Regions from separate parts of the Homo sapiens genome. Here region 1 is linked to region 2. The links are contacts of gene promoters, found by promoter capture Hi-C in human tissues and cell types (Jung and others, 2019). All regions are on one chromosome and are shown on one strand. Each heading gives the region's core, a stretch centred on a gene start or on the middle of the fragment in contact. The rest is flanking DNA. Distances are from core to core; before and after follow the strand shown. Region 1 overlaps WDR62 (WD repeat domain 62). Region 2 holds the start of ZNF566 (zinc finger protein 566).

Evidence for each region. Contacts are between HindIII fragments. The study calls those that stand out against the background at their distance.
Region 1: a contact is called between a fragment that was not itself captured here and the fragment with the promoter of ZNF566 in region 2, in 1 of the 25 tissues and cell types used here (small bowel).

The regions. Positions count from the first base shown.
Region 1 is chr19:36,102,995-36,107,765 of GRCh38, reverse strand. WDR62 (WD repeat domain 62) reads right to left here. Exons shown (of 32, transcript NM_001083961.2): 28 at 4,692-4,771; 29 at 4,559-4,610; 30 at 3,785-4,423; 31 at 3,091-3,248; 32 at 2,658-2,998. The coding sequence ends at 2,738. Among named protein-coding and RNA genes, the nearest start is that of OVOL3, 5.8 kb to the left of the region's middle. The HindIII fragment of the contact is 5,077 bases long and covers 983-4,771 here.
Region 2 is chr19:36,487,399-36,492,734 of GRCh38, reverse strand. ZNF566 (zinc finger protein 566) reads left to right here and starts at 3,174. Exons shown (of 5, transcript NM_001145344.1): 1 at 3,174-3,249. It overlaps ZNF566-AS1 (ZNF566 antisense RNA 1), which reads right to left and starts at 3,108. Exons shown (of 1, transcript NR_036504.1): 1 at 1,695-3,108. RefSeq lists enhancers at 2,305-3,190, 2,685-3,244, 3,805-3,884, 3,191-4,078. The HindIII fragment of the contact is 11,175 bases long and covers 1-5,336 here.

The DNA.
Region 1 (4,771 bases), core at 2,272-4,771, 390 kb after region 2:
GTGGCAGACATGCTGGATCCTCTCTGATTACCAGCCCACTTGCCTTTCTTATTGAGAGAACCTCTTTGTTTGAGCTGCAACATGCCCAGGACAGGAGAGATGGTCCAAGCACATCAAAGCAATCTCCATTCCTGTTGCCTGGGACTCATCTGACCCCAGATGAGTCTCCCAGGGAGACCCCTGGGAGAGATCTGCATCTTTTCTGCTGCCCTAGAGGGTGCCCTGCTCTGTGCCTTTGCTCCTGGTTGGACCAGGCCACCCAGCAGCTGGGACCAATAACTTGGGCCTCTGACCCTCATGTCATTGTGCACCTGGCCTCTTCCTCTCCTGCTGTCACCCTCTGTGAGCCCCCTGCACTCCACATCTAACCTCAGCCTCCCCATAGCAGTACTATCGGGGCAGCTTCTAGCTCCTGCGCTTCCAGGCTTATGCCAGGCACTTCAGTCAGGGCTGCAGGAAAGCCAACAATTGCAAAATGGAGACACCACCTGAGGGTGTGCTGCTGGGTGCCACAGCAGCCGTGTTGCAACCATGAGGCCATAAGCTGGAGACTGAAGCTTGCTCACAGAGGATAACAGAGCAGGAGAGGAAGAGGCCAGGTGCATGATGACATCAAGGGTAACCAACGTCCCTCCATCTTGGGCCCTGAAAGCCAGGTGTTTACTCCTTGGAGCAGAAGACTTTACTATGATACAGGTTGGAAGGAAGGGTAATTCCATGCATGACAGAGGCCCAAGGTGGTCTCCTGGGTGTCCGAGGCCTGGGGGGCTGAACACCAAGCTTTGCCCAGGGATGTTGGGCAAGGTTTTGGGCAATGGTGGCCGAACTAGGCAGATGGGCCTAGGCCTAGGCAGGTGGTTCAAGTTCTGGACCACCTGGACTCCCTGAGGCAGAGTCGTGAGAAATAAGCAACACTGGATATCCCCCAAACATTAAGAGCAGAGATTTAGAAACAAACCCAAAAACAAAAAACTGTTCTGGATATTCCTTGGACTTAAATGTTATGAAGCAACAAGGCCCTGCTCCTCCTTGCACCTCAGCTCCTGCCCTCCCCTTGCTCACTCCATTCCAGCCGTCCGGGCTTCGCTCCTCTTGCTTCCACACAGATCACGTGTGGCTGCCCCAGGCCTGTGCACTGGCTGTGCTGTCGGCCTGGATGTGTTCCTGAGATGTCCTCTATCAAGCTTCAGCCCAAATGTCACCTCGAAAGGCCTTCCCTGACCCTTCACCAGCAATGGATCTCCCCAACCTATCTAGAATTATACAGAGCTCTAATTCCTGCATCTGTTTGACTGTATAGAAGGTGAGTGGCCATGAGGGCAGGTGCGTTGCCTGATGTTCCTTCTGCTACAGTGCCCGGCACCTGGGTGGGAACTGGCAGGATTTTTTTTTTTTTTTTTTTTGAGACTTGCTGTGTCACCCAGGCTGAAGTACAATGATGGTGTGATCTCAGCTCACTGAAACCTCTGCCTCCTGGGTTTGAGCGATTCTCCTGCCTCAACCTCCTGAGTAGCTGGGACTACAGGTGTGCACCACCACACCCCAGCCAAGAGTGGCTTTTTTAGCAGACACCCCATGTGGCCAGATGCCTGCTGTCTGGGGGAGCTGGTAGCAGTGCTGGGAGCTCGTGGAATGTAGAACTTCTGAAGGGGAAGCAGTTATTGGTCCCAGCTGCTCGTGGCCTGGGCCTGCTGCCAGGATCATACAGTGGGCAAGCCTGCCTGGGTTTCTTGTTTTATTTTGTTTTATTTAAAGAGACGGGGTTTTGGCCAGGTGCGGTGGCTCATGCCTGTAATCCCAGCACTTTGGGAGGCCGAGGTGGGCGGATCTCCCAAGGTCAGGAGTTTGAGACCAGCCTGGCCAACATGGCAAAACCCCGTCTCTACTAAAAATACAAAAATCAGCTGAGTATGGTGGTGGGTGCCTGTAATCCCAGCTACTCGGGAGGCTGAGGCAGGAGAATCGCTTGAACCCGGGAGGCGGAGGTTGCAGTGAGCCAAGATCGCACCACTGCACTCTAGCCTGGATGACACAGCAAGATTCCATCTCAAAAACAAAAATAAATAAATAAATACATGAAATAAAGAGATGGGGTTTCACCAAGTTGCCCAGGCTGGTCTCAAACTCCTGGCCTCAAGCGATCCTCCCACCTCAGCCTCCTGAGTAGCCGGGATTATAGGTGCAGGCCACCATACCCAGCTTGGGCAAGCCTGTTCATGGGTCCTCAGTTTCCCCTGTTGCAGATGGGGACACCACCACCGTGGACTTTGTGGGATCTAGTGTGGCCTTGGCCCAGAGGCCCTGAGCCATGATATGGCAAAGCGTGGACTGCTGGGCAAGGTAGGCACATGGTGATCACAGCAGCCCCAGTGAGTTCTCAGGCACTGGCAGGGGGCAGGTAAGAGGGTCTGGCTCCTCCCTGGGGCACAAATGGGCCCCACTGGGTAAGCACCTCACACTGGTCTGTGGCAGCTCTGTGGGCAGTGTGGGAGGACTGGCCCTGAGGTCATGGCTGCAGTTCCTGAACTTCTTGGGAGCGCTGGTCCCATGCTCTCCACTGACAGACACGAGTCCTCTGGGCATCACCTTCTACCCTCCCTCCCCACTTCCACTTGAAGAGGGCTTTGTGGATAGGCCCAAACAGACACCAGGAACCATTCCTCAAAGCTGTCAGTTTATTCGCTTAAAATACCTAAGTCCTCAGAAGCAGCAGGGCTGCGGTGGAGGGGCTGCGCCCTCAGTGCCCCCGTGCCTTCCTCCGCACGGCCTGCACCAGCAGCTCCGAGTAGTGTTCCAGCAGGGCCTGCAGGTCTGGGCTGGCCAGGGGGTACAGCGTCGGTGGGGACGGGGGTCCTGGGCTGGGCAGAGCCTGGGCTGGGGCCACACTAGTCCCCACCAGGCATTCAGCCTCCAGCTGGCTGTGGATCCACAGGAAGGTGGAGACCAGCTCAGTCCGTGCCTGCTGCTGCCCGGTGTCCACCTGGCCACTGGAGACCAACTGCAAGGGATGCCAGCCTTGTCAGGGGCCACCAAGGCCGGGCGGTCTCAAGAGACCCCTCAACCCTTTCCCAACTCTGGGGCTTAGCTCACCACACGGTAAAGGTCGAGGGCTTCTTGGAAGGTGGTCTGCAGCCTGTGCAAGATGTTCCCCACCCTGCTCAGCTCAAGGGGAGATGGGGGCAGGGCTTCAACCGGCACCCAGGGCTCACTCCAGCGGGCAGGGCTGCCCTGTAACAGACCAAGTGCACCTGGGGTAGAGAGAAGGGAATGAGCAAGATGAGCTGCATTCCATTGGTGTGAGCGGCCAGAGCGACTGGGTGGACTCCATGCTGTACTTCTGTCTGGAACACTTCTCTGGGTCCCCAAGGCTCCCTCCCCTTCACTCCTACAGGTCTCTGCTCCAATGCAGCCTCCTCCCTGAAGCCTCTTCTTATCTTCTGGTTTGTAATCCCAACCCCTGTCCCCACCCTGCACTCCCTCGCCCTCCTCTGTCCCTCCTAAGCATGTGTCACTTCGTGATACATATGACGGGTTCCTTAAAGGTTTAGTCTGGGCATTGTCCCCATTGAAGCTGTCAGTTCTCTGTGTTGTTTACCACCATGTCCCATGTCCCAGGGTTTAGCACAAAGCCCAACATGTAATGCTCATTAAATATTTAAGTTAATGCACGAATGAATGAATGGCACAGTCCCTGTGGCCAGGTCAAGTATCCATCTTTGGAGCTGAGCCAACTAGCACACAGGATGAGCTTAGGGGACAGTCCTTGCTCCAGGGCTGTACTCACCGGAGGTGGGCTCCAGGAGGGAGGCAGTGCCGCCAGGGATGCCAGGCCGGGCCTCTGGAAGCTGGGGGTTACTGGGGTGGGCAGGAAGGCCAGGGGACTCAGGAGCTGGGAGACTTGGGCGAAAGGCAGAGCCGTGGAGCCTCAGGGCGCTCTCTTCCACAGGGCTAGGGGCTGGGAAGCTCACTGCAGGGACGGTGACGCCAGGCTGGGTATCCACGGGGGGCTGCAGGAGCCCATCACAGGCACTTGACAGGGTCAGTCTCAGGTTGGCCCGGGCCTCGTGGTTGCCCCAGGAACGCAGGGCAGGCTCTTGGCCCTCACTGTCCAAACTGGGTGTTGTCGCGGTGGTGATGGCCTGAAGCTCCTGGCCCAAGGAGGCCAGCTCCCCAACGGACGATGGCCTACGGAGGGGCTGGGCCAGTGTGGCCACGATAGGGCCCTCACTGTCACCGAGGGAGATGCTGCGTGATATCCTGGCACGGGAGCTGGCAGTGGCCTCCATGTAGGAACAGGTGGAGGGGGCATGGACACCCTGAGCCAGGCCTGGGGTGGGTGCAGATGTGGGCGTTGGGAGATTCCTGTCTGTGGGCAGCACGGAGGAAGCAGGGACACAGGACGCCAGGCTCGTAAGGCAGGGAGCTGTAACGGAAGCAGATGGCACTGACTCCACCACACAGAACTGATGGCTAGGGCCCCCACGCCCCACAGCTAGGCTGGACATCCGGCCACTCGCCGAGAAACCCAGGACTGTCCGTCTGGGACTGGGGCACTCACGTGGTGGGCGCCAGGCCTCCAGGGTCTCTTCAGCCTTCCCTGCAGCGAGGACCTGCAGGCACAGCTCTGAGGTGAGGACAAGGCCTCAGGGTTCCCAGCCCCGTGCCCTGACGGAGGTGGGCCCAATACTCACGTGGGTCCTGTCTGGGGAGGCGTAGCCAGTACCTGCTCTGGGCTGGCTTCCGCCTCGGTCCATGAGCTTGACCTCTGGAG
Region 2 (5,336 bases), core at 1,925-4,424:
GGCTCACCCGGGCCCAGGTGTCTTTTATCTCTTTGTCTTGTGTCTTTATTTCTACCACCTCTAGTCTCTGCACACAGGGAGAAAAACCCACAGACCTTGTAGGGCTGGTCCCTACAGTGTTCCAACTGTATTCAGTACAGTAACATACTGTATAGCTTTGTAGTTTAGGAGCAACAGGTTATACCATGTAGCCTAAGTGTTCAGTCAGCTATACCATCTAGGTTTGTGTCAGTACACTCCATAATGATGAAATTGCCCAACAATGCATTTCTCAGAATGTATCCTTTTTTTTTTTGAGACCGAGTCTCACTCTGTCGCCCAGGCTGGAGTGCAGTGGTGCAATCTTGGCTCACTGCAACCTCTGCCTCCTGGGTTCAAGCGATTCTCCTGCCTCAGCCTCCCGAGTAGCTGGGACTACAGGCGCGCACCACCATGCCCGGCTAATTTTTGCATTTTTAGTATAGACGGGGTTTACACCATGTTGCCCAGGCTGGTCTCAAACCCCTCAGCCTCCCAAAGTGCTGGGATTTCAGGCGTGAACCACCGCACCCGGCCAGAATATATCCTTATTATTTATTTATTTATTTTTTTTTAATTGATCATTCTTGGGTGTTTCTTGCAGAGGGGGATTTGGCAGGGTCATAGGACGATAGTGGAGGGAATGTCAGCAGATAAACAAGTGAACAAAGGTCTCTGGTTTTCCTAGGCAGAGGACCCTGCGGCCTTCGGCAGTGTTTGTGTCCCTGGGTACTTAAGATTAGGGAGTGGTGATGACTCTTAACGAGCATGCTGCCTTCAAGCATCTGTTTAACAAAGCACATCTTGCACCGCCCTTAATCCATTTAACCCTGAGTGGACACAGCACATGTTTCAGAGAGCACAGGGTTGGGGGTAAGGTCACAGATCAACAGGATCCCAAGGCAGAAGAATTTTTCTTAGTACAGAACAAAATGAAAAGACTCCCATATCTACGTCTTTCTACACAGACACGGCAACCATCCGATTTCTCAATCTTTTCCCCACCTTTCCCGCCTTTCTATTCCACAACACCGCCATTGTCATCATGGCCCGTTCTCAATGAGCTGTTGGGTACACCTCCCAGATGGGGTCGTGGCCAGGCAGAGGGGCTCCTCACTTCCCAGTAGGGGCGGCCGGGCAGAGGCGCCCCTCACCTCCCGGACGGAGAGGCTGGCCGGGCGGGGGGCTGACCCCCCCCCACCTCCCTCCCGGACGGGGCGGCTGGCCGGGCAGAGGGGCTCCTCAATTCCCAGTAGGGGTGGCCAGGCAGAGGCGCCCCTCGCCTCCCGGACGGGGCGGCTGGCCGGGCGGGGGACTGACCCCCCCACCTCCCTCCCGAACGGGGCGGCTGGCCGGGCGGGGGGCTGACCCCCCCACCTCCCTCCCGGACGGGGCGGCTGGCCTGGCGGGGGTGACCCCCACCTCCCTCCCGGATGGGGTGGCTGCCGGGCGGAGACGCTCCTCACTTCCCAGACGGGGTGGCTGCCGGACGGAGGGGCTCCTCACTTCTCAGACGGGGCGGCTGCCGGGCGGAGGGGCTCCTCACTTCTCAGACGGGGCGGTTGCCAGGCAGAGGGTCTCACTTCTCAGACGGGGCGGCCGGGCAGAGACGCTCCTCACCTCCCAGACGGGGTCGCGGCCAGGCAGAGGCGTTCCTCACATCCCAGACGGGGCGGCGGGGCAGAGGCGCTCCCCACATCCCAGACGATGGGCGGCCTGGCAGAGACGCTCCTCACTTTCCAGACTGGGCAGCCAGGCAGAGGGGCTCCTCACATCCCAGACGATGGGCGGCCAGGCAGAGAAGCTCCTCACTTCCCAGATGGGGTGGCGGCGGGGCAGAGGCTGCAATCTCGGCTCTTTGGGGGGCCAAAGCAGGCGGCTGGGAGGAGGTTGTAGCGAGCCGAGATCACGCCACTGCACTCCAGCCTGGGCACCATTGAGCACTGAGTGAACAAGACTCCGTCTGCAATCCCGGCACCTCGGGAGGCCGAGGCTGGCGGACCACTCGCGGTTAGGAGCTGGAGACCAGCCCGGCCAACACAGCGAAACCCTGTGTTTGGTGGAGACCAAAAAAATACGAAAACCAGTCAGGCGTGGCGGCGCGCGCCTGCAATCGCAGGCACTCGGCAGGCTGAGGCAGGAGAATCAGGCAGGGAGGTTGCAGTGAGCCGAGAGGGCAGCAGTACAGTCCAGCTTTGGCTCGGCATCAGAGGGAGACCGTGGAAAGAGAGGGAGAGGGAGACCGTGGGGAGAGCATATATCCTTATTATTAAACTATGCATGACTGTGTATACAATACCTTTATAGGTCAAAAGCAGTCAAATACTGGCCATGAGATACACTTAGTCCAAGTACACAAATAATTGCAGAAGGAGAAAGTGAAACTCCTCTTACTTCCTGCCCCACTCATTTATCACAAAGCACACAGAAGTCAGAATAACACCTGCCCTTTGCAATTTCAGACTCCTCTCTTTCTGCCTCTCCAAACCTGTCCCACGTTTGGCGATTCCTTTCCCTTCGACCTCCCCCCATCAGGTCGCAGGTTCCTGGTCTACACCCCTTCTGCGTCCCCAACCACTTCTGAGTCTCACAACCTCTGGTCCCATAACCCCTCTGCACTAAGGAGCAATAAACAAAATTCACGCCCGAACAAAGAGGCCAAAACAGCAACCCAGGATGTTTGCGCCTGCGCACTCTGGGCGCACAGTACTCAGGCCGGCAGCCCAGCACCGGCTTATCTGTGAGAGCAATTAAGATGACTTTCGGAGGGTCCAACCGCCTTCCCAGCTCCGAACTACATCTCCCAGAAGGCTCAGTTGTGCGATTATCTTTCCATGCAGACTTGTCCTCTTTCTGAGGCTGTCCAGCGCCTGGGGGCAGTAGGACGGGTCCGGGAACTAAGCCCATCTCAAACACGTCGGAGTGGCTTTCTTTGGGGGCCAAGGCCCGAGCCTGAGGCGGGACTCCATGAGGCCTCTGGGGCGCGAGCGGTTTGACTAGGGGGGGCGATCCTTTCGGCGGGGCTGACGCAAGGCGCGGACAGGAATTCTGACGATCGGGAACCATCTTGTCCGGCCTTGATACGTCTCTGACTACGCTTCCCAGAGGTCTCCTCGGCAAGACTGTACTTCTCGCGGTAATTCAGCTTCCAACTCACGCGCTGGCGGGACCCTCAGGGCTTTACCAGCAACTACCCCAGTGCCGGGGAGGGTTCTGCTGCTTCGAAAGCTGGTAAGGCCTGAGGTGAGAAACCCGGGAGAGGGCGGGGCCGGGGGCCAAGCCTCGGCTTTGTGCGGCGGTGGAGGTGAGATTGAAAGCGTGCGCTTGCGTCTGTGTGGAGGTGTGTGGTGAATGATCGCGCGATTGTGACAGGCTGCCCTTGTGATGAGTGTGTTTCCAACGCTCACACCGTGTGCAGCACGGCCTCGGAGACTGTGGCTGCTGGTGTGTGTGTGAGAGGGAGCAGGACCACGTGCGGCATTGTGTGTGCGGCTGTGGGGAGCTTGTGCCTGGTTGAGTGTTACTGCGTTTGTCCCCGTAGTGGTGTGCGACTATATGCTGTGTGACTGTGTGCGGCAGAGTTCAGGTGGGGATACCTGCGAGTAACTGCATGTTTCTATCTGTGTGTGTGGCTGTGGTTAATGTGTGATCGTGACTGTGACCCGGTACAGGTGTGCGCCGACTGTGACAATGTGGTTGTGACTGTGACTGCCTCCTCGGTAAGCGTGCACTTGTGCTTATGTGACCGATAGAGGCCCTGCGTGTGCGACCCTGTTGCTTTGGGCGTGGATTGTCTGTAGCTGAATGTCCCCATGGTGGGAGTGTGATCAGGTTTGTGTGGCAGGGTAAGTCACACAGTGTGAGGTTTTATCACTTACGTATACTTCTCTAGGCATTATACTCCAGTTTTTCCCCGTTTTAAAACTTTATATGAATGTTGTCATACTGTCTTTGGTTTATTTTTACAATTCTGTGAATCATCCCTATTAGATAAAATCGCGGTTAATTCAATTTCTTTGCTATATTCTCCCTTCTGAAGTATACCACAATTATTCATCCTTTCTAGTAATGATGCCCTATTAGTTATTTATAGCTTTTCATTTTATAAACAACACAGCCACATTCTTTCACATGGGGTACACATGCTTGAGTTTATTTACCAGCAGAATTGCCGGTTCATATATCTTCCACTTTACTAAACAGTGTCAAAATATATACCCGAGTGGCTGCACAAATTTGTACTTGAACAGCAATGTTTGAAATATCTTATTGCTCCATATCCCTACCAAAGCATAGTTCCAAGAGTTAAAAAAATTTTTGTAGGCCAAGTGTGGAGGCTCATGCGTGTAATCCCAGCACTTTGCCAGGCCAAGGTGAGAGGATCACTTGAGGCCAGGAGCTGGAGACCAGCCTGGGCAACATAGTGAGACCCTAACTCTACCATAAATACATACATACATAAAAAATTAGCCGGGCATGGTGGCTGGCACCTATAAGTCCTAGCTACTCAGGAGGTTGAGATGAGAGGATCGCTTGAGCCCAGTGCTTTGCAGCTGCAGGAAGCCATGATCATACCACTGCCCTTCAGCCTGGGCAACAGAGCAGGAGGCTGTCAATAGATACATAGAGCCTATATAAAGTGTGCAAATCTTAAGTGTACAGCTGTGTAACACTCTTAGATCTATACAAAGAACTTTGCCAGGACCTGAGATGCTTCCCTCATACCACTTCTCAGTAATTTCTCCCCCACACAATCTATTCAGAATTCTATCATTAACTAGTTTTACCCATTCTTTTTTTTTTTTTTTTTTTTTTTTTTGAGACAGAGTCTTGCTCTTGTCACCCAGGCTGGAGTGCAGTGATGCAATCTTGGCTCACTGCAACCTCCGCCTCCTGGGTTCAAACGATTCTCCTGCCTCAGCCTCCTGAGTAGCTGGGATTACAGGCACCCATCACACCCGGCTAATTTTTGTATTTTTAGTAGAGACAGGGTTTCCCCATGTTGGCAAAGCTAGTCCTGACCTCAGGTGATCCGCCCACCTTGGCCTCCCAAAGTGCTGGGATTACAGGCATGAGCCAGTGCATCTGGCTGTCTTACACATTCTTGAACTTCATGTATATATGCAATTATGCAGCATGTACTGTTTTATGCCAGGCTTCTTTTGTTATATATTATGTTTGTGAAATTCATTCATGTTGTTCAGTGTAATTGTACTTAGCTCTCACTATACTGGGGATATATTGTAGTATATTAGTCGATTACATTGTTGATGGATATTTGGGTAGCTTCCAATTTGGGGCTGTTACAAATGATGCTG